Regions from separate parts of the Homo sapiens genome. Here regions 1, 2, 3, 5, 6 and 7 are each linked to region 4. The links are contacts of gene promoters, found by promoter capture Hi-C in blood cells and fetal thymus (Javierre and others, 2016). All regions are on one chromosome and are shown on one strand. Each heading gives the region's core, a stretch centred on a gene start or on the middle of the fragment in contact. The rest is flanking DNA. Distances are from core to core; before and after follow the strand shown.

Region 1 (3,120 bases), core at 1-2,500, 5.5 Mb before region 4:
CACTAATTAAACAAGCATCAAAAGTTCCAAGTCCAAGACCTCCTACAGTATCAAAATGTTTCAACACATTGTAATATGTAGTACATCACAATAGAAATAAAGGTAAACTATTTTAATTGCTTTCAATATGACCAAAATTTGTTTTAAAAGGAAATTTGCAATATAATATCTACATGTGTTCTGGCTGGCACAATAAGAAATTATACTTTCTTAAAGCTCTAAAATTTTCAAAAAATTATTTTACTATTTGTAATTTGAACCTGTATTCCTGTTCTAACTTGATTTTGTTAAAACTCAATTCAACTCTAAAACTGGGTCTGAGGAAAAGAATCATGGTTCACAAAAAAGACTCAATAAAATGTAATATAGAAGATAGGAATAAAACACAACAAATTGACCAACTCTAGAAACGGAAGTTACCAAGGTTTAGGTGCAAGTTAAGGTTGGAACCAGTTAGAAGAAGGAAAAACGCATCTAGGTATAGAGTGCAAGCTTCCAAAAGTGGGCAAACACTGTAGTCTGAGCAGGAAGACAAAGGTAGAAAGTCATTTAATGGCAAGAAATATTTGAAAAAAATGACTGAGTAGAGTTCCACAATTTTTCTTACTCATATGCATTCCAGTATTAAAAATATAAAGAAAGCTTACCACAGTTCTCTGGAATGTGTGTGTTCATTAAACCAAGTTCCCAGGCTCTTCTAATTAGGGGGACTGGATACTAGAAGAAAAAGAACTGAGTTAAAATATATTTTGAAATCCAGATAGTTTGATTACATAATCTTGTAAAAAATGTAAAAGATTTTTCCCTCTTTAAAATGTATATACCTACTTCACCAGTTTTATCATATTCTGCAGCCACTGGGATGATTTCCTCTCTGGCAAATTTACGAGCAGTAGCTTGAAATTCTTTCTGCTGTTCGGTGAACTCTAAGGGAAAATTATTTAGAAAAGTTAAAACTGGATAACAAGGAAAAATGTCCTATGAAGTCAGTATGTAGAAATGTGTATTTATTGTGGGGACTTAAATCCTTGATTATCAGAAACTCAGACTACAGTGCATTTTTTGACTAATCAAGAGTTCACTACACAATATAAATAAACCTATGTCAATACAAATGCTAAAGGAAATAGGTAAGATTTTTAACTTTTACAAATGAGTAATAGATATTAACCTGTAGAGCTCAAGTGAGTTTTTCTTTTCCAATTGGTGATATAAAAAACGTTTAACTTATTATTAGTTCCTAAGCCAATTTATCAAATGTTTGCTAACACTGAAGTGAAACTAATATACAAGACATCTCCCTGACGACAAGAATCAATCTAACGAAATAGATGAAACACACTCAGTGACATAAAGCAATAAAACTTATTTCAAAGTGTCATATAAGAATATCAATATCATAATTTTGCTTTTTTTTTTTGAGACAGTCTCATTTTGTCACTCAGGCTGGAGTGCAGTGGTGCAATTACGACTCACTGTAGCCTCGACCTCCTGGCCTTAAATGATCTTCCCACCACAGCTTCTCAACTAGCTGGGATCACAGGCACATGCCACCATATCTGGCTAATTTTTGTAATTTTTGTAGATACAGGGTTTTGCCATGTTGCCCAAATGGGTCTAGAACTCCTGGGCTCAAATGATTCTCCCATCTTGGCCTCCCAAAGTGCTGGGAGCCACCTCACCCTATCTATTTCATTTTTTTTGTTTTCACAGAGACAGGGTCTCACTATGATGCCAGGCTGGTCTTGAACTCGTGGCCTCAAGCAATCCTCCTGCCGTGGTCTCCTAAAGTGCTGGGATTACAAGCATGAGACACCATGCCTAGGCTTACAGCTCCTTTAAACTCAGACAAGCTTATAAATTAGCACAAAGCAACTGGTAAAAGTGGTAGAAAGGTTTTTCAAAAGATAATAACATAAAATCCTGCTGCAATGCTAATAAATGGTGTCCAACAATTTGTTTACATAAAATAAGGGATTGTTTTAAAATTAATGAAATTAGTATGGTGGCTTGATTGAGGAGAGGAGTCAATTGCTAACTGCATCTTTTCAAATCCATGGTATCCTTGTGTTTTAATGTGGTTGCATCTAACGTCAAAGATTAGGTAAAATTTAAGAGATAATAGGGTATTTCAAGCAAGAAAAATGAGAGCAAATGCACAGAGGAATGTTTAAGACTACAGTAATCATTTGTATGGGGATGTGAGAAACAATACATAAAAGCTGAATTCTGGTGCTGAATTGAAGAGCATAAGATCAAATCTCTTTTTTTTTTTTTTTTTTTTTTTTTTTGAGACGGAGTCTCGCTCTGTCGCCCAGACTGGAGTGCAGTGGCGCAATCTAGGCTCACTGCAAGCTCCGCCTCCCGGGTTCACGCCATTCTCCTGTCTCAGCCTCCTGAGCAGCTGGGACTACAGGTGCCTGCCACCGCGCCCGGCTAATTTTTTTTTTTGTATTTTTAGTAGAGACGGGGTTTCACCAGGATCTCGATCTTCTGACCTCGTGATCCGCCCACCTCGGCCTCCCAAAGTGCTGGGATTACAGGCCCGAGCCACTGCGCCCAGCCAAATCTCTCTTTTTATTGATAAACTAATGCAGAGTAAGGAAATTCTAGTATCAGTCTCACAATGAATTAGCAGAAGTATACTTAAGAATTTCAGTCCAGTGTTCTCTCTATCACAGCTTTACTTCTAAGATTGGTGCCAGTTGATAGCAATCTTGCAGGTAGATAGAGGGTAGAGAAAGTCTGGGCACGGTAGCTCATGCCTATAATTCTAGAATTTTGGGAGGCTGAGGCAGGTGAACCATTTGAGGCCAGGAGTTTGGGGCCAGCCTGAGCAATATAGCAAGATCCTGTCTCAACAAAACATTTAAAAATTTAAAAAATCAGCTAGGTGTGGTTGACATGGACCTATTGTCCTAACTGCTCAGGAAGCTGAGGCGAGAGAATCCATGGAGCCCCAGAGGTCAAGGTTGCATCCAGCTTGGGTGACAGAGTGAAACCCTGTCTCTTAAAAAAAAAAAAAAGGAAAAATGACAAGTATGTATTATGTATTATTTATTGAGAAACTACTTTGATCCAGTCACTAAGTGCTAGGGGCTTTAAATACAGCATATAATT
Region 2 (3,172 bases), core at 1-2,500, 6.6 Mb after region 4:
CCCACATTTCCATATATCAGATTTACTGAAAAACTTTTTTTTTTTAATTTCCCCTATCCGAGTGGACCCGCCCAATCAAGTCAGTTAACTTTCCTTGGCCGGGGGCGGAACCAAGGTGTTGCGGTAATTTCCTGGCCTGCCACGACTGCTTGCTTGCGTAAGGGCGTCTTTGGGTATGTTGCCATTCTAATGAAAATTCAGCTCCAGCCCCGTCGGTGGAACAGATCCCGGGCACCACTGGGCAGAGACTAGATGTTTCAAACGCCTGCCCCCCAGCAAGCAGGCCGCGCAAAGGGCAGGAGTTCGGAACCAAGGCAAACTAGGGGGCGGGGAGAAAAGATTGGCACCCGCCTGCTGAGATCTGCCAACCTGACGCCCCAGGGGGATGGGTGCTCTCGCCACCCTTGCCCCACAGTGTCGGGCTCCGAGCCAGCGGGAAGCGCCAGTCCTAGCCGAGAATAGCAGAGGAGCGGGCGGGATGCGAGGGGGCTCTGGGCGAGGCGGCGGCAGTCTAACCTTTCCTGCTTAAGGCGACAGCACTCTGCGCCGTAATCGTATCTTCCAAGGCTGCAAGGTTAGGGCAAATGTCAGACGCCTCGGGAGGGGCGGGGGACGGGGAGAGGGAAGGCAGCGGCTAGAGACGGAGAGTCGGGCGTGACCTTGGGAGGCTCCGCGCCCGCACCTCCCGGCGCCCCGGGAGTCAGGCGAGCAGGTCTGCCGGGTCCCGTGGCCACTTTCCCCAGCCCGGCGACCTCCGTCGGGCCTCCAGGCCAGAAGAGCGAGCGCGAAGGAGAGGGAGGAGCGGGAGGTGGAAACCGAGGCGGCAGCGCGCGGAAGCGGCCGGCCCCGAGCGAGGGAGGGCGCCGCGGGCCGCACGTCGCACACGCGCCAGGGTGCACAGCGGCGCGGGGCCGCGCATCCCTTACCCCGTTGGCGGCAGCGATGCGAGCGATGAGCTGGATGGCCTCCTTCATGTAGAACCGGCCGTCCCCGCCCACCACCAGCGTGGCCTCCTGCCGCTGCGCCGGCTCCACGGTGGAGATGATACTCTGGATGAAGTTCTCCGCGTAGTTGGCGCTGCTCTGGAACACCTTCACCCGCTTCCGCAGCCCGCTCGTGCCCGGCTTCTGGTCCTGGTACGCCTGGGTCTTAACTGTCACGATCTTCACCATGGTGGCGACTTGCTGCCGGGGGTCAGAGCGGCGGACTTGGCTGGCGGAGGGGCGGCCGGCTGAGGCTGCAGCTGCTCTGGGGTGAGGGCACGGCGGGTGGGGGCTACGCCGCACTCTAGGCCGGCGTTTGGCCCTCCTCCTTAAAGGGACAGGGGACAGGGCCCTCCCTCCGCGCCAGCCCACCTCCTGGCAGGTCCGGCGGGAGGGGAAAGGGGAGCGCCGGTCTCTAGGCCTCCTGTGAAATGGGTGGAGCCTTACTGATTTACTCTCCCCTTCGGAATCCTATCCACTGTAAAAAGAGGCCCGCAACTCCTCCTCTAAGTGTTGGGGCAGAGGTTGGGGTAGGAACCCGGTCATAGGGCAAGGACGTGAGGCAGGGTGGAAAAAAGTACAGGGTAGAATGATTTCCAGTGGTTTGGCGAATGCATCGTGTGTAAATAGCTTTCTGGAAACCTGTTGGGAGGGTCAGAAGTGCCAGCCCCAGCTCGATTTCATGAGTCGTAATTCTTTCTATTTCTCCCTAAATGTGAGGGCATTTGAGTTCCGTAAAGGAGTCGACTCCAAATGTTTCCTGCTGCACCACACACTTGACTACCATTGGTGACGGTGACTTAGCTATGACTTGCTGAGTGTAGCGTTTCTAAACCTTACTAAACTCTGGGTTTTATTTTTCCCCTTTTTATGCTTACAAAACTGAAATTCAAAGAATAAAATGCCTTGTCTCATTGCCACACAGCTAAGTCCATGCGGGAGGCCAATTCAGGTGGTCTGGCTCCAAAACCAGGGCTCTTCCCATGATTTGCCCGCTGTGACACCAGGTTGGCAACTAGGAAATGTACAAGCAGGACTTGACAAATGTAGGAGCAAATATATGGTAAGGATAAGTATGAACACCATCAAAATTAGCCAGTTACTCATGTAATAGAAATAAAGTGAGGAGATCAACAAACAAGGACTGACATGGCTGGAAAAGTTTCACGGGGGATAGCAAGGTCAACCAAGGGGATTTGATTATTAAGTAGGAATCTTCAGTCTTTCTTGCTTTTCGGTTTAGTATCTCCCTTAATTTGATGAGAGTGATTGTCTCCTCTGTTCAAGAAACCTGTCATTTTGGTAAAGTGGCAAAAAACTTGGCTTTACAAGGTGTGTGCTCTTGGGAAAGTTAGTTAATGTCCGTGGGCATCAATTTCCTTACTGTAAAATAAACATATCACCTACTTTGGAATATTTTTGCAAGATTTAATGGGGTTTTGTATGTCAGAAATTCTCAGTCATGGATACACAGTAGAATCCTACTGTGACCCATGCTCACAGTAGAATTACTTGAGGTGGTTTCTAAATGACCCAGTCCAAACAAATTCAATCATAATCAGCTGTTAGAAGTAAATCATCTAGCCTGGTGCCTGAAACATAGAGGCCTTCAAAAATATTAGCTCCCCTTCCCCAATTCCAAAACCAGAGCATATCATTCACCTGTGAATTATATTCTTTTGGTAGTTAATTGGTATGTCTTGATCAAGCAGGGAGGCGAACAGACCCATAAGAGTGCAGACTCTCACAAACCAAGTGTTGATATACATGCTCATATAGTACATGCTATGTAGATACAGTGTGTTGATGTAGTCACTATAGATGAGTTTCGGTGGCAAATATTATGTGAAAACGGAACCCTGGACTGCTAGTAATGAGTTCTAATATTTGCACAGGAGTTTACAGAGCAGTGTAATCTTGTGAATTAAATAATATAATCAAGCCCATTTTATAGACGAGAGAATTGAGGATTGGATGGTGAATGTAATCAAGGTTATCTAACTCCACAAAATGAAAATATAGCATAGATTCACTGAGCCTTCAAAATACCTACCTTAGAGTTGTATGGTTTAGATAGAGAATATACAGCTCCTACCACAGTGCTAATAAGTAAGTCATCAATAAATGATAACTTGTAAAGTCACGGGCCCAAATTCAGATCTCATGCCCTTTCTATATTCTTCAGTATC
Region 3 (3,215 bases), core at 252-2,751, 6.7 Mb after region 4:
ATCAGTGAAAAAGGTAGAGAATATTATAAGGCTAGATTTTTTTTTAAAGCAAGTCCTAACTCTTTACTGTCTATAAGCAACAAAGTTGAAAGTTAAAAAAAAAAAAGAAAGAAAAGAAAGGGAAAGGTAGATATAACAGTCTAACAGGAGAGAAACCAAATGATCAATATCCAGAATGAAAGGGTAAATTGTACTTAGATGAAAGAGAACATAAACTATCAATATCCAAAATGAAAGAGCAGAATACCACTAAAGATGCTATAGATATTGAAAGAGGTAATATCATTAAAGCCTTTATTCCAGTAAACTTGACAACTTATACAAAATTGACAAATTCCTTGAAAAATACAACTTAGCATGATGGCATAAGATGATACAGAAAATCTGCATAATTAAGGAAATAGAATTTGTTACTAAGAATCTTCCCACAAAGACCCAGACGATTTCATTGGTTAATTGTACAGAGAACATACCCATTCGTGAGAAAATAAAACCCTCAGCAAACTAGGAATAGGAGGCAACTTCTCATTTCTTTGAAAAACCTATAGATAATATATTTAGTATCGAAAACTTTTTTAAGATTAGGAAAAAGGCAAGAACGTGCCCTCTCACCACTTCTATTCAAAAAAGCACACACAGAAAAACACCCATAGTGTTAAAAAGGAAAAAGTGGGGCCAGGCCCAGTGGCTCATGCCGGTAATCCCATCACTTTGGGAGGCTGAGACAGGCAGATTGCTTGAGCCCAGTAGTTCAAGATTAGCCTGGGCAATATGGCAAAACGCTGTCTCTACGAAAAAATATGAAAATTAACAAGGTGTGACGTTACGTGCCTGTAGTCCCAGCTACTTGGGAGGCTGAGGCAGGAGGATCACTTGAGCCGAGGAAGTCAAGGCTGCAGTGAGCTGTGATTGTGTCACTTGCATTCCAGCCTGGATGACCCTGTCTCAAGACAAACAAAAACAACAACAACAAAAAAGGAAAAAGTAAAATTAATGATTCAACAATGACATCATGTATGAAGAAAATCCTAAAAAATCTATAAAACAATTTTCAGAACAATTTAGCAAGGATGTAGGATGCAAAATCAGTGTACAAAGATCAATATATTTCTATATTTCAGGAATAAACACCTGGAAATTGAAGTTTAAGATTTTTCATTTATAATTACATAAAAACATATAATAATTTAGCATAAGACATGCAAGACCTCTACAGTGAAAATTACAAAATGTTCCTTAGAGAAATTAAAGATGAAGATAAATGAGAGTATTTTTATTTATTTTTTATTTATTTTTATTTATTTTTATTTTTTTATTATTATACTTTAAGTTTTAGGGTACATGTGCACAATGTGCAGGTTAGTTACATATATATACATGTGCCATGCTGGTGAGAGTATTTTTAAGTGATAAATGTGGTATTATTAAAATGTTAGTTCTCACCAATGTTTAGATTTAATGCAATCCCTGTCATAATCCTAACAAACATTTCTTTTTAAGTTTTGCTCTTTTTTTATTTCTACTGTTTAAAATGGATCTTTTTTAAAAAAAGTTAAGTGGATGAAAACTTGTATAATAGTATTTGGTATTATCTTTATCTTTTCTGTTTTATATTTCATTTTTCATGTAATCTAATTTTCCTTCTTTGTACTTTCTTTTTTTGAGTATGATCATTTATACCTAACTTATTTGTTTTTATTTTTTATAGACTCAGGGTGTATATGTGCAGATTTGTTACAAGGATATATTGCATAATGGTGAGGTTTGAGCTCGTAGGTGCCCATCACACAAATAGTGAACATTGTACCCGAAAGATAATTTTTCAACCCTCACCTTCCTCCCATACTTCCTCCTTTTGAAGTCTCAGTGTCTATTATTTCCCTCTGTATGTTCATATGTACCCATTGTTTAGCTCCCACTAATAGATGAGAACATGTGGTATTTGCTTTTCTTTTTTTTTCTTTTTTCTTTTTTTTTTTTTTTCATGAAACAAGGTCTTACTCTGTCACCCAGGCTGGACTGCAGTGGCATGAACATGGCTCACTGCAACCTTCACCTCCTGGGCTCAAGTGATCCTCCTGCCTCAGCCTTCCAAGTAGCTGGGACTACAGGTGTACACCACCACACTGGCCTAATTTTTAATTTTTTTGTAAAGACAGAGTCTCATTGTGTTGCCCATGTTGATCTCAAACAATCCTCATGCCTTAGCCTCCTAAAATGCTGAGATCACAGGTGTGAGCACTGCCACACCCAGTTGATTTTCTTTGCTTTCCTTTCCTCTTTTTTCTCTTGTTTTCTTTCTTTTCTTTCCTTTTCCCTTCCCCCCCCCTTCTCCCCCACCTTCCCCCGCTCCGCTTCCCTTCCCCTCCCCTCTCCTCTTTTTTTTTTTTTTTTTTTTTGAGACATGGTCTTGCTCTGTCACCCAGGCTAGAGTGCAGTGGTGCAGTTTGCTCACCACAACCTCTGCCTCCCAGGCTCACTCTGGACTCAAGCAATCTGCTCAGCTCAGCCTCCCAAAGTGTTGGGATTACAGATGTGAGCCACCATGCCTGGCCTAATTTTCTGCTTCTGAGTTATTCCAGTTAAGATAATGATTTCCAGCTCTATTCATGTTGTTGCAGAACAACACGGTATCATTCTTTTTTATGGCTGCATAGTGTTCCATGGTGTATATATACCACATTTCTTTATCCAGTCATCCATTGATGGACACAAGATGATTCCATGACTTTGCTGTTGTGAATAGTGCTACAATAAATGTACAAGTACATTTGTCTTTTTGATATAATGATTTATTTTCCTTTGATAGATACCCAGTAGTGTGGTGGTTGCTGGGTAGTTCTTTTTTTTTTTTTTTTTTTTTTTTTTTTAAGTTGGAGTCTTGCTCTGTTGTCCAGACTGGAGTGCAGTGGTGCAATCTTGGCTCACTGCAACCTCCGCCTCCCGAGTTCAAGTGATTCTCCTGTCTCAGCCTCCTGAGTAGCTGGGACTACAAGCATGCACCACCATGCCTGGCTAATTTTTGTATTTTTAGTAGAGATGGGGTTTCACCATATTGATCAGGCTGGTCTTGAACTCCTGACCTTGTAATCTGCCCACCTCAGCCTCCCAAAGTCCTGGGATTACAGGCGTGAACCATCGTGCCTGGCGTTGAATGGTAGTTCTATTTTTAGTTCTTCAAGCAAACGTTTTTTAGAAATTGAAAACTGATTTCA
Region 4 (3,039 bases), core at 532-3,031:
TTTTACAAGCTTAAAACAGTAAGTCTTGAGAAAACTGAACAACAGCAAAGCATCTATTTTTGTATGTTCATGTTATGAAAGCTATTTGTCTTTCATTACCAAATCAAGTATCTGTCAAAATAACAGGAATAAAGATTTACGTGTTTGTTCCCAGAACTCCACGTCATGCAAACTAAGTAAATCCTCTCTCCACATGTACATTTCCCTAAAAATTAGAAACATACCAATTTGAAAACACCAATAATCTTGTGAAAGTATTTTAAGTGGAAAGTGATGAAATATGCTAATACTTAACAAATATCTCATTATGATAAACTTTTGTCAATTATTTTATTGAGCAGAAAGTTAATGGTTACACGTACCATAACAGTAGATTCTTAGAGGATTCCAATTTCCTGTTTAGTATTTAAGTGACATCATAAAATTCTCAATATATGATATTTACTGATAATGACATTTGAATTGTCACTTCTCCACCAATAAGTCTTCCAAAAAGCACAAGACTATTATTATTATTCCAATTGTCTGTTTTAGTAGTACACTTTATCTTACTTCTTAGCTTCTTTGAACTATTTTTTCTTTACAATTCATCCACTTAATATTCTTGCGATAGAAATAATTTTCAAAATAAAAGTGAGACAAAAAGGATAAAAAGTCATACACTCTAATTCAAATTTCAACATTTATAAAAATCCTTCTCAAGAACAACTGTGAAATATCACAAATCTGTATATTATTCAAACAAAGGAAAATCTCTGGTTTATAACCCGTTTTTTGACATTATACAAATTAAGTAATCAGGCTCACACTAAACTAAGCGTCTGTCAAAAAGAATATGATCTTTGAATTATATTGCTGGGCCAGAACCACATAACAGCAATAACAATAAGTGAACAACCTACAAAGTTTAACACCAAATTAACACAGGCATGAATAATTTTGTTACCTTTCTTCCAAGAACGCAAAGAACAAATACTCAGTTTTTTAAAAAAGGGATTTAACCTATATACGACGTACAGACTGCGGTTAGTCTTGCGTTAAGTCCCCAAAGCCAAACGACCACGTTGGCACAATTTAAGGCGGAAAAAAAAAATTTCCCGAGAATAACAGCCAGTGTTTCCTAATTCCAAAAAGCCCTGGCCCTGCCTCTCTGCATTTTTTTGTAGGCCTGGAACACAACCGTCTTAAGTAAATCCACCAGCCACCAGCCACTCAAGCAGCCTGGCCCGGGGAAGCAGCGACAGGGGCCTAAGGAAATTGTGTGTGTTAGGCCCAGGCTGAGGCGGCGTTAGCAGGAACAGTGATGGTGGACGATACTCACTCCGGCGGGAAGAGGCGCAGTTCGTCGATCTTGCCTAGGAAACCGAAGAGAGTCCGCATCTGCTCAGAGCTAGCGCTCGGGGAGACATTAGTCACCTGGATTACCTCGGTGCCGCCGCCTCCGCCGCCACCACCACCTCCGCCACCGGGCCCGCCGCTGGGGCCCGGACCTGCAGTGCTGGGGACGACGGTAGTGTTGCTCATGGCGCTGCTCGGGTTCTCGCTCCTGCTTTAACACATCAAACACACAACAAACAGTGAGAAGGAGGGGGAAGAGGAACCGGATTGCGGGAGAGAGGAGGGTGTCCGATGCTACAGCCTCTGCTACTGCTGCCGATGCCGCCGCCGCCGCCGCCGTTTCTCCGCCCCGCCGCACGCCGCGGGGGAGGGGATGAGAGCGCGCGAGCTCGAGACCACGAGAAAACAAACGGCCGCCCCACCTCGCCTCCAACCACGACACTAGCGGGCCCGAGCTCCCACAATGCTTTGCGGCGCAGGGCGCGTCAGCGTCGGCTCCACCCCGCGCAGGCCCAGCAGCCGTCGCCTGCAGCCCGAGAAATGAGAGGCACCGGGGTCTAGAGAAAGGTGTTATCCACCTTCGTCTCTCGTTTTATTCTTCTTTTTCTTCTCTCTTTTTTTTTTGGAAGAGCGAAGAGGCACGTATAAACTTTTTTTTTAAAAAAAGCATTCATCCTCCTGCAAAAGTCACTTCAGCAACTCTTCTTATTAAATACTGCTCACGATGTCTTTATATACTGATAATCATCTACAGAGCTATCCGATTACTAATGATATTTAAACCCAAGCTAAGATGCCACCCCACCACCACCAGTATAAAATGTCCCGAAATTTTCAATGTACATGAATTTTGGTAACATTAAATCTGTAACTAATTTGTTTTGTCACTAAAACTTTCAGAAAAGATATATTTTAATATTACACTTATTAATAAGCGTTTTGTACATTCATTCACAATGGATGACTTTTTTTTTTGAGACAGAGTCGCCCTGTCGCCCAGGCTGGAGTGCAGTGGCACCATCTTGGCTCGCTGCAACCTCCACTTCCCCTGTTCAAGCCATTCTCCTACCTAGGCCTCGGGAGTAGCTGGGATTACAGGCGCCTGCCACGACGCCAGGCTAAGTTTTGTATTTTTAGTAGACATGGGGTTTCACCATGTTGGCCAGGCTGGTCTCCAACTCCTGACCTCTGGTGATCCACCCGCCTTGGCCTCCCAAAGTTCTGGGATTACAGGCGCGTGAGCCACTGCACCCAGCCAATTCCACAATAGCTGACTTTGGAAACACAGTTTATAGTACTTAAATATATTCAAGTATATATTTCTAAAGAAAATACTGCAATTTCTCAAGAAAAACTTGTTTCACATACATATTCTTGCTTAAAATAATTTTGAAGCTTTTGACTATTAAAAAAATCCTTGCTTTTGTTTTCAACCTCATCTGAACTATTCTCTCAACTGCATCCAGTGTGTAGTCCAGTGACTTGTAGTGCCCCAAACATGACAAAAACCATAATGTCTCTGTGCCGATACACAAGTTATTAATAACATCACTCATCTTATCTGTCATCTTCTGTAGAGCATTCCTTCCCTCACTGCTATGACTTCTGCAAGCTGTTAGGGCTTCCTCTTTTCTGCTAAGTAACAGAAGATACATGTATTTATTATTGACATGTATCACTCAAAGTTGTGAGCTTCCTGGG
Region 5 (3,287 bases), core at 151-2,650, 5.3 Mb after region 4:
CACTCCTTCCTTCCTGCTTGTCCCAGGGAGAGGATCGTGGCTAAGTTCTCCTGGGCACGTGTTCTGTTCTACCCTTGAAGAGCAGTGCCAGGCCTGGGTACAGCATGAGTGGCAGCCTCCCTGCCAGCTGATAGCCCTAGCTTTCCACTGTCACCAGCGGAGGGTAAGGGAACAGTCCAGCAGCTTCAGAGGCCTGACGTGGCTCATGCTGCCCGTGGCTCTGCAGATGTGTGATTCTTTCTGTGTGTGAGAGAGACACCAAAGCCCACAGTCAAATTCTCAGTCACTTTCGTAAATTACAAGGAAGATGGGCTGTATAGAATCATTGAAGATTATAAAAATGTTGGTTTTTACCTTTAAAGTAACTTCTTTGTTTATCCTTTCCATGTTAATTGCTACTCCCTGAGTTTATTCATCTTTTGTTTATCTATCAAGCATGTGTTCAGTAGCTGTTAGGTACCAGGCACTGGGATTCAGTGGTGAGCAGGACAGCTGCAGCCTTTGCTTCCGTGCACAGCTCACGGCATTGCTCGAATGATGCCACAGGCATCTGCTTCTCTCTGCCGCTTCCGTTTCTATCTTCCATGGGGCTTCCCTCCCAGGAGAGCGTGCCTCATATGTGCCTGGCTTTCGTTCTTTGCTCTGCCTGCTTTGCATGGTCCAGGCTCTGTAGCCTGGCATTTAATTATTCTGTTCCAGCTTCCCTTCCTTGGTGCTTTTTCCCCTCCTGCCACCTCCCCTGGCAATGGAGGGCGACCTGTCTCCTCGGCACCTCGCCAGAGACTGTCATATGTCCAAGGACAACTTATCCTTTAAGCACAGTGCCTAGAGCACACACTTGTTAGGGGCCCATAAAATGTCTAATTTCACTTAAAATCAGAAAACATAGTTGAGAAATATAACTTGTAATATTTTTTATGGAGGAAGGGAAAAGTGTTTAGGGCCTATGGAAGTCACAGTGTAGTCCTGCTTGTGATACGTGCCCCATTGTGTGTTGCTGGATAGTTGCTGCTGGACCTGACCGGTTGCTCCCAGAGACAGGAACTCACAGAGTACGAGAAACATGCCTGAGAGCCCTCCACATCTCAGGCCCTAACTCAGGGCCTGGCTTGTCTTAGGCTCTGCAAACATAGCACAGTGACAGTTGTTGAAGTGTAGCAGCAGCTTTTTGCAGGGAAAGAGGGAGTTGTATTTATTGCTTCTCCATGACATGGTTCTTTTCTCATTAGTTCATGGGCAAGTCAAGGGAAAGAGACCTAGGTAGCAGCTGAGTCTGTAGCCTACAGATGGCCTGGGCTGGCTTGGCTCAGTCACTTCCCTTAGTCACTTCCACACATTCCAGAAATTGTGTTTTTCTTACAGGTGACAGAGGAAGTTATATATGGAAGGTAGGGTTAGGGGCACCAACCCCCTGTGCAATTGACAATCCATGCATAACTTTGACCCTCCAAAACATAGCTAATAATAATAGCCCACTGTTGACTGGAAGCCTTACCAATAACATAAACAGACTAGTAACCTGTATATATCTTATGTATTCATGATGTACCTTTTTCTGAAATTAAAAAAAAAAAATTTCTGTGCTACACAGTTCGTCAGTTTTTTCAAACTGTTGCAAATCTCCAAAAAAATTTTCAATATACTTATTGAAAAAAAAATCTGTGTATGAATGGACTTCTGTGGTTCAAACCCATGCTGTTCAAGGGTCAACTGTAGTAGTTAAGAGAACAGGCTTTTGTAGTTTTAGGTCACCTAGCCTCTTGGAATCTCAGTTTTCCTCATCTGTAAAATGAATGAAACCTTCCTTGTAGAGTTGCTGTGAAGATTAAATAACATAATATATATAAAGTGCTTGTTAACTCGTTTCATGATGCCTGTAGTGGTGTTTGGGTAGCTCTCTTTTAAAATCCTATTCATCATGTAAGATACACCATCAGTTGAATAGCAGCAATCTGGGAAGTAGGAAACACTGCCACGTAAGCTGTATATCTTGATTGCGTGATGAAACTAAGTTGCAGGAATGTTAAAATGTCAATCAAATTGGTCTTGGATTCGAGGTAGAATGGGCTTAGCAGTGTGGCTGATGGTAAGCGTGCAGGGAGCTGTGGTCAGCATGGAGTTCCAGTCAGCAGGTGTTTCCCTATTCTGGAAGCATAGTGAGAAGTCAGAGGAGCTGTCTTTGTGATCTTCGGGAAGTCACTTTAGCTCCCTGAGTCATAGAGGAGGTGCTGATGGGACACTTCTCACGCAGCGCTAGTAAGAAGGAAAGAGATGGTGAGGGGCTACAAGGGGCAGGGTTGTCTGCCTGCTTCTCAGGGCACTTCAGCCTCCGGCACTGACCACTGTTGGTGAGCCAGGACGCCCTGCCCACATCTGGGTCCCCTTTGCCACAATTGGCATTCATTTTCCTGCCTTCCAGGTTCTATTTCACCAATTGGCATGGAACCAACGACAATGAGCAGTCAGTGTGGCGTCATTCTCCAAAGAAGCAGAAAAATGGCTACGAGAAAAAAAAGATTCCAGATGCAACCCCTCTCCTTGATGCCAGCTCACTGGAGTATCTGTTTGCTCAGGTAGGAAGTTTGGGCCCAGGAGAAGCTGGAGTTTGTGGGATGGGAGAGGCATTGTAGAGCTCAGACCCCCTGCTGCAGCTGAACTTGGTGGTGCTAGAGTGCTTTAAGGCCTGTTCTGGGTAAGTTCTTGCCACACCTGGACTTGCCCCAAGTGAGGAGAAAAAAGGCAGCATTTCAGCTTTCCAAGAGGCTGGTTATCCAGCTTGTGGGCTTTGGGGCTTCCTTTCTTTCCTATTCCTTTCCTTTTCCCCACCTCCTACCATTTTATTTTTCATCCGTATTAATAGCCTTATGTGCAGAGGTCAGAGGGAAGCTCTGCTTGTTAGAAGATGTAATTCAACAGGGCTGAAGAAGGCACTTCTCAGCAGCCGTAGTAATGTCTGGGGAGGAAGGAGATGGCCACTCTGTCACTGGTGGTAGGATAGAAAGATTAGACGCTAGAAAAAAAACAAAAGAGAAGGTAGAATCACCTGAAATTACATTTACTCTGAGATTGCTAAGATTTTTAGTAGTATGCTTCCTGATTTTAACATGCAAATTTAGATACTGTATAGATTTTGAAAATATTTTATGGTTCATTTTGTTTTGTAAACTGCTTTTTTATTCATCTGATTTTTTTTATTGTTTGTCCTTCAAATGTCAATTAAAATATTGATCTTCGTTGTTTTAATGACTTTGTAACAATTCATTTATTCAACAAATATTGACTGGATG
Region 6 (3,394 bases), core at 283-2,782, 5.6 Mb before region 4:
CTTCATGAATGAATTAATCCATTCATGATTTAATAGGTTAATGGGTTATCACGAGAGTAGGACTGGTGGTTTTATAAGAAGAGGATGAGAGACCTGAGCTACCATGCTCAGCTCCCTCTCCATGTGATGCCCTGTACCACTACAGGACTCTACAGAGACTCCACCAGCACAAAGACCCTCACTAAATGTGCCTCCTTTGACCTTGGACTTCCCAGCCTCCAGACTTCCAAGAAATATGTTTTCTTTCTTGATAATCACCCAGTTTCAAGTATTCTTTTAAAAGCAACAGAATACAGACTAAGACATATGTTTCATTTGTATAATAATTATTAGACCTCTTTTAACCTTCTTCTGTTAATTTCTTCATTGAATTTCTCTCCCCTATGCAAATGGCATTTTAGACTCAATTGGCTTCAGTTCCTTATTTAGGTACTTATCTACTGATGTAAGCTATTACCTATTTTACAGGATTGTCATAAAATTTTTAAATAATGTACATAAACAACCTAGCATAGCCTCTTGGCACATAGAAGTTCTAAAAAAATTTTAAAATGTTTGGGCTCTGTTCACCTATTCTCTTTGATTTCCACAACTCTCTATCTTGAATTCTCTTTAAACCACTTTTAGTTTCCTTTGCCATCTCCTTTTTCCTCTGCTTCTTAACTGTTGGCCTCCAGGGCTTCATACTTTTAAGCTTTCCCTCACAAATCAACATTATGCATCTCCAGGCATCTCATCTCTCCTCTTTGTTTCTATTAACATCTATTTTCTGACAACTCTCAAGCCTTCGTATATAGCTGTAACGACTCCTTAAACTGTAAACCAGGGGTTGCTAAACTTTTAATTTTTCCTTTTTGTCTGTATGTGAGACTCTCGTTCTGTAGCTTAGGCTGGAATTCAGTGGTGTGATCTTGGCTAAATGCAGCCTTGAACTCCTGGGCTCAAGCAATCCTCCTACCTCACCCTCCCGAGTAGCTGGGACTATAGGCTCATGCCACCATGCCAGGCTAATTTTTTGTATTTTTGTAGAGATGGGGTTTTGCCATGTTGCCCAGGCTGGTCTCAAACTCCTGGGCTCAAGTGATCTTCCCATCTCAGCCTCCCAAAATGCTGGGATTATAATCGGGAGCCACCATGCCCAGTCTATTTTACTGTCTTATAAAGACAAGGTCTCTCTTTGTCGCCCAGACTGGAGTGCAGTAGTGTGATCACAGCTCACTGCAGCCTCAAGCTCATGGGCTCAAGTAACCTCCTGCTTCAGCCTCTTGAGTAACTATGGACTATAGGTGCACCTCACCACACACAGCTAATTTTTTTTTTATAGAGACAGGGTCTTGCTACATTGCCCAGGCTGATCTCAAACACCTGGCCTCAAGCAATCCTCCCACTTCAGCCTCCCAAAGCACTGAGATTACAAGCATAAGCCACCATGCCTCAGCATAAACTTTTTTTTTTTTTTTTTGAGATGGAGTTTCACTCTTGTTGCCCAGGCTAGAGTGCAATGGCGCAATCTCAGCTCACTGCAGCCTCTGCCTCCCAGGTTCAAGCAATCCTCCTGCCTCAGCCTCCCAAGCAGCTGGCATTATAGGCATGCCCACCACACCTGGCTATTTTTTTTTTGTATTTTTAATAGAGACAGGGTTTTGTCATGTTGGCCAGACTGGTCATGAACTCCTGGCCTCAGGTGATCTGCCCACCTCAGCCTCCCAAAGTGCTGGGATTATAGGCATGAGCCATCATGCCCAGCCCATAAACTTTTAAATAAAGGACCAGATGGCAAATATTTTAGGCTTTTGTGGGCCATATAATCACTGTCACAATTACTCAGCTCTGACACTATCATAGAAAAGCAGTCATAGATAATACATAAATAAATGAGAATGGCTATGTTTCAATTAAAAATGGCTTTATTTCTACATATTGAATTCTAAATTTCATATAATTTTAATATCACAAAATATTCTTGATTCTTTAATCCTTCAAAAGTGCAAAAACCGTTCTCAGCTCTATACCTGCATTGTTCAATAAAGCAGCATATGTGAGTATTTAACTAAATCAAAATTAAATACAATTTAAATTCTGTTCCTCAGTCACACTAGCAACATTTTCAAATGCTCAAAAGCCACATACGGCTACTAGTTACCACATCGGACAGCATAAGTATGAAACGTTTCTATTATCACAGAATATTCTATCAGACAATGTAGCTCCAGGTCACTATATCTATCTCTTGGGCATAAACCTTTAGGTATCTTCCCAGCATTCTAAATGTCCAAAAGTGAACTCTATCTTTCCCTCAAAATTAATTCTTTATTACCAGTATGGTTAATTGTACCAGCTTGTCCCTTGTCACTCAAGTCATAAGCTTAGGAGACATTCTCAATTCTTCCTTCATCAACCCTAACACTCAGTGACTGAGTGCTAGAATTCTTTTTTTTTAACATCACTAAAATTTAAATCCCTCTCTACTCCTCCCAGCCCATTTTAAGCCTGTATCTTCTTTGGTCCTTGTGCAAGTTTCCTACTTCTTCTTCTCCTTGCTTCCAGTATTACACCTCTCTAATCTATTCTTCGAATCATCACCAATAATCTTTCTGAAAAGCAAATCTGATCAGTATCTCTCTTTCTTACAATTCCTATGTGTCTCCCCATACTCACCATAGGGTAAAATATAACTTCATTATATGGGTTCCAGCAGGAATCAATGATATACTCAAACTGGGATAATTTGATAAAGAGAATATTTACAAAGGTGTGGACAGGGTGTAGGGGTGCTATCATAAAGACGTGTGTAGAACCAGCATAAAATGTGCTCCATTAGCATTTCTAGGCTTTAGGGAGCTAAGGAAGAGAGTGGTTGCCAGAAACTGGAGATGCGGAAACTGGAGATGGAGAGGGCTGTTTCTTGTTCTCAGACTACTTTTAGACTATATACCCTTTCTTGAAACTCATTCACTTGTCTTAATTCTCCTCCTACTTCCTTGACCTCTATTTTGCTATATAGTCTTCATATTCTCTGCTGTGGTCCCAACATACTGGTAACTTTCAAATCCATATTTCCCTCAAGTTTCTCTCTTCTTAGCTCTAGTTTCCTATATTCAATTATCTTAATATAAATATATGGATATCCCACAGGCTTTTCACACTCAGCATGTCCATAACAGAGCTCATCATCTTCCCTCTAAAATTTGCTTTGCCTACAAAATTCCCAGAATCAGAAAATACTACTACCATCTATCCAGTCACCAAAACCAGAGACCTGGTGTTGAATATGGGGGGTCTCTGGGTTAAATTTGTCTCCCAGATCTAATTCTCACAACTATATCTACATTCAAGTTTATCTACCTAGATCACTCTCCTGCTCTAGCCAAGCAAAATTATTAGCAGTTTTACA
Region 7 (3,402 bases), core at 337-2,836, 7.4 Mb after region 4:
TTCATGTAGAACCCCACCCCTGCTCAATCAAGAAAAAATGATACCAAAAAAACCTATTTTAGGCATAGTATTACTCAAATATACAAAACTACAACAATGACACAAAAGGGTAAAAATAACTAAGAAATTAACCTTAAACACTGCTACCACAACAAAAAATACTAATAAACAAAGCATGTTTCCCAAACCTGGTCCTCTTTCGATGTTCTCTACCTCGGTGAAGGGTGCAACAATCCTTCCAGTTATATAAGCCAAAAACCTAAGATTAGCCCATGATATCTTCCTCTCCCTCACCTTCCATATCTAATCCATCGCCTAGTTCCACCTCCTGAACACCTCTGGAATCCATCTTACCACCACCACCTTGTCCAAAATACCATCTCTCAATTGGGCCACTCCAACAATCTTCTAACTGGCCTCTCCCCATCCCCACTCTTATCCCCTCTGTAATCAGTTCTTCCTCTGTGTAACATCAAGTCCTTTTTTAATAGCATTTACCACAGTTGTAACTTTAAATTTCTTTGACTATTTGATTTATGTCTGCCTCCTCTGTTAGTAAATTCTATGAGGGTAAACACCGTATTTACTCACTACTATACCACTGTGGCCTAGAAGAGTGTCTAGTTAATAAATAAATGCTAAATGATTGAATGCATGTCAAATATTACAATTTTACTTATATATAGTCCAAAAAATAAAAATAAAGTGCTTTATAAGGCTCACCAATTATTCTATATCACAGATTTTCACTTGTTTTTTTTTTTTTTGAGACAGGGTCCTAATTTCTACCTACCAATCCCTAACCACTATTTAAATTCCACATTAGATCTCATCTTCATGAAACATTCCCTAGTTATCTCTCTTCTCACCTTTAACATTCTAAAACACTCCCGTAAAATCTAATACATATTGACTATATTTTCTGCTTCTTGAAGGGAAAGTTTACATCTCATACATTCTGCTAGAGTATAAGCTCCCTAAGAGCAGGGACTTTTCTTGTTCACTCTATATCCCCAGCACCTTGAAGAGTGTCTGGTATGAATAGCTGCTCAGTAAGCATATGTTGATTTAACGCTCTTTATATATTTCAGGATAGAGCACAGATCCTTGCAGCTGTTGTACAGTGGGAAGAGTCGAAAAGAACTGAATTAATTTCCTTAAATTCTTCAAGCTTCAGTTTTTTCATCTGTTAAATGTAAATAATACTCAATAGCTTAGTTGGAATAACTGCGCTAATGCTTTAAAAGTATCTATGCAGAGCTGAGGACAAGAGGATACTCTTACAAACAAATGTTTTGGTGATTTTGTGACAATAGTTAAATAGTAAGTAGTCACTAAATTCCTACTAAATGAATAAAATCTCAGGAAAAATATTAAAAGATTGAGTAATGGCTACCGTATCATTTTTTTCAATAAAAAATTATATGAGTAAATTTATTCTGAAATATATTTCGCCCCAAATCTTAAGCATGGCTGAAACCATTTCAGCATTTTGTGCATTAATTAGGAATAATCCCAATTTAACATTGTACCAGTATTAATATTTATATTTTACTGACATGTATAGATCATACTTGATAGCTTAAAAAAGAATGATAATCTTAGTATAAGAACCTCTTTAGTGCAATAATTGGAATAGAAAACGAGCTGCAAACTCATTTGAGTTACGTGGTTCCCCAGAAAGCCAGAAAATTTCTGCCTTTTTATAAAACATTAGTGAACAGAATACGATGCTGTTCACCAGAACCATCAAAACATCTAGAAATACTTCATAACCAATCACCATAAATACATTTTTCCAAATACTTGAATCCTATTTTAAAGAAAAAGAGCATTAATTAAATGGCTTTTAATGACTTTTTGCTAAATTATACAATTCTTTAGATGGGCCACTTTTTGACATGTGGTTCTAAAAATTTTATAGCGAATGAACTGGTAATTCAATATAGCCTCAGATTATTGGACTAAATAGAAACTCTTCCTGTTCAAAGAAGAAGCTTTATCAATTTGAAACTCAGAAAATACATAGACTTTACCTTTCAAAGCCTTTCCACTCCCTCTGGGTATTCTCAATGGCTCATAATCTAATTACAAGTCACAAGCAAGCAAGAAGATCATTCCCTTGTCTCTTTCTGCCATCAACTGACACAAAATCATTGCCAAAAACCCACCGGGGACATATGGTCCGAGCAGGAAAACATAAGAAAACTCCTAAGTAATTCGGATATAAAAAGATGTAAGACGAGGTATTCTTCTGTAACTATAGGGTAGCAGTGAGCCCCATGTGGGTAAATAACCAATACAAAACGAAAAGGTAAGCCAAAGAAATCACAAGAAATATAAACTCAATAAGCAGTGATGCTGAGTTGACCGCTGAAGGTTCTCATATATGAATATAGTCATCATATGTAAGAATTTATTCTACACCTCCAACCTCAAAAGCCCTTAGATGTGGGTAGGGTTGGGAGAGTTCACGGTGAGCGGGAACCAAATGAAGTGAATGAACGTTAATATTTAGATGGAAAGGCATTAATATATGCAAGGCAGTGTGTTATGGCTTGAAGCAGTAACAAACACCAAAAAGGGAGAAAGAGGCTAGGAATGAGAACAGAGAGACAGTGGGGATCCAGTTATTATTATTATTTCCCTTTTTTTATTTTTTAAACGAGGAAAAACAGGGCCGACAGAGCACTGGCATGAGGAGGGGTCAAATGGATGCGATAGATCAGGGGAAAGAGTCTTGCCTGCAACATCTAAGAAAACCACAAGGAAAGGAGGAACAGCTGCCCACAGTTAGGCTTACGGTTTATCTCTGCAACCCAGGACAAAGCGAGGAAGAGTTAGAAGACAAATGACACTAGAAAGGAGAGACAAGGAAGGCGCCAAAACCCTCAGAGAACCCAGATGGTTGGCCACAGGGTCTTCACTGAAGGCGGACCCCCGCAAGAAACCCAGTCATTCGGGGACCAGAGACGCTAAGTCCCAAACTTCTTGACTCCTTTAGCCTCAAGCCGATCCCTCACCGAAAGAGAAGGACTGGAGAACTGTAAAAATGTGCAGGAGCCACCAACCCGGCAAATGCTCCAGCTCTAGCAGCAGCCGCCACAAAACCAGCCCGCACACACGCAGACGTTCCGACCTCAGCGCCGCAGCTACAGGTACTTTGAGCACCCCGGCCACCGTAGTAAGAGGAACCGCCTCCGCGTCAAATCCAACAGATCAGCCACTTCCGGGATACGAAAGCCTTGCGATTGGCAGTAGCGATAGCAGCGGCGTAAAGGCCTCTGCTATGCTTACTTTATCCATCCCTTTTTCCCACCTGTTCGCCACCCCAAGCCGCTAATCCACCAATGCAGCAAGCGCAGAACCAAGAGAAAGTATCCGTCTGTGAGCATTGTCTCT

Evidence for each region. Contacts are between HindIII fragments. The CHiCAGO score rates a contact against its expected background, and 5 or more counts as called.
Region 1: a contact is called between a fragment that was not itself captured here and the fragment with the promoter of SRSF11 in region 4, in 1 of 17 cell types (total CD8 T cells). The highest score is 5.1, in total CD8 T cells.
Region 2: the fragment with the promoter of PGM1 here is called in contact with the fragment with the promoter of SRSF11 in region 4 in 2 of 17 cell types (total CD4 T cells and total CD8 T cells); the score reaches 7.5 in total CD4 T cells.
Region 3: a fragment that was not itself captured here is called in contact with the fragment with the promoter of SRSF11 in region 4 in 1 of 17 cell types (naive B cells); the score reaches 5.3 in naive B cells.
Region 5: a contact is called between a fragment that was not itself captured here and the fragment with the promoter of SRSF11 in region 4, in 1 of 17 cell types (total CD4 T cells). The highest score is 5.1, in total CD4 T cells.
Region 6: a contact is called between a fragment that was not itself captured here and the fragment with the promoter of SRSF11 in region 4, in 1 of 17 cell types (total CD4 T cells). The highest score is 5.3, in total CD4 T cells.
Region 7: a fragment that was not itself captured here is called in contact with the fragment with the promoter of SRSF11 in region 4 in 2 of 17 cell types (total CD4 T cells and non-activated CD4 T cells); the score reaches 8.5 in total CD4 T cells.

What each region holds. Positions count from the first base shown.
Region 1 is chr1:75,730,450-75,733,569 of GRCh38, reverse strand. It overlaps ACADM (acyl-CoA dehydrogenase medium chain), which reads right to left. Exons shown (of 12, transcript NM_000016.6): 3 at 829-926; 4 at 648-717; 5 at 1-42. Among named protein-coding and RNA genes, the nearest start is that of ACADM, 7.3 kb to the right of the region's middle. The HindIII fragment of the contact is 1,211 bases long and covers 645-1,855 here.
Region 2 is chr1:63,591,489-63,594,660 of GRCh38, reverse strand. It overlaps PGM1 (phosphoglucomutase 1), which reads right to left and starts at 1,250. Exons shown (of 11, transcript NM_002633.3): 1 at 927-1,250. The coding sequence starts at 1,172. RefSeq lists enhancers at 214-273, 974-1,263 and a silencer at 634-933. The HindIII fragment of the contact is 4,618 bases long and covers 1-3,172 here.
Region 3 is chr1:63,515,481-63,518,695 of GRCh38, reverse strand. The region is part of intron 1 of ITGB3BP (integrin subunit beta 3 binding protein); the gene reads left to right. It overlaps LOC102724319 (a long non-coding RNA gene), which reads right to left. Exons shown (of 3, transcript XR_426701.4): 3 at 902-940. Among named protein-coding and RNA genes, the nearest start is that of ITGB3BP, 6.1 kb to the left of the region's middle. The HindIII fragment of the contact is 5,782 bases long and covers 1-3,215 here.
Region 4 is chr1:70,220,122-70,223,160 of GRCh38, reverse strand. It overlaps SRSF11 (serine and arginine rich splicing factor 11), which reads right to left and starts at 1,781. Exons shown (of 12, transcript NM_001350605.2): 1 at 1,322-1,781. The coding sequence starts at 1,524. RefSeq lists a silencer at 1,397-1,446 and an enhancer at 1,342-1,887. The HindIII fragment of the contact is 2,724 bases long and covers 12-2,735 here.
Region 5 is chr1:64,872,656-64,875,942 of GRCh38, reverse strand. It overlaps JAK1 (Janus kinase 1), which reads left to right. Exons shown (of 25, transcript NM_002227.4): 5 at 2,420-2,573. Among named protein-coding and RNA genes, the nearest start is that of JAK1, 92 kb to the left of the region's middle. The HindIII fragment of the contact is 4,131 bases long and covers 1-3,287 here.
Region 6 is chr1:75,799,637-75,803,030 of GRCh38, reverse strand. The region is part of intron 1 of MSH4 (mutS homolog 4); the gene reads right to left. Among named protein-coding and RNA genes, the nearest start is that of MSH4, 4.5 kb to the right of the region's middle. The HindIII fragment of the contact is 1,671 bases long and covers 697-2,367 here.
Region 7 is chr1:62,783,895-62,787,296 of GRCh38, reverse strand. ATG4C (autophagy related 4C cysteine peptidase) reads right to left here and starts at 3,165. Exons shown (of 11, transcript NM_032852.4): 1 at 3,024-3,165. RefSeq lists a silencer at 2,685-2,979 and enhancers at 2,955-3,134, 3,255-3,314. The HindIII fragment of the contact is 826 bases long and covers 1,174-1,999 here.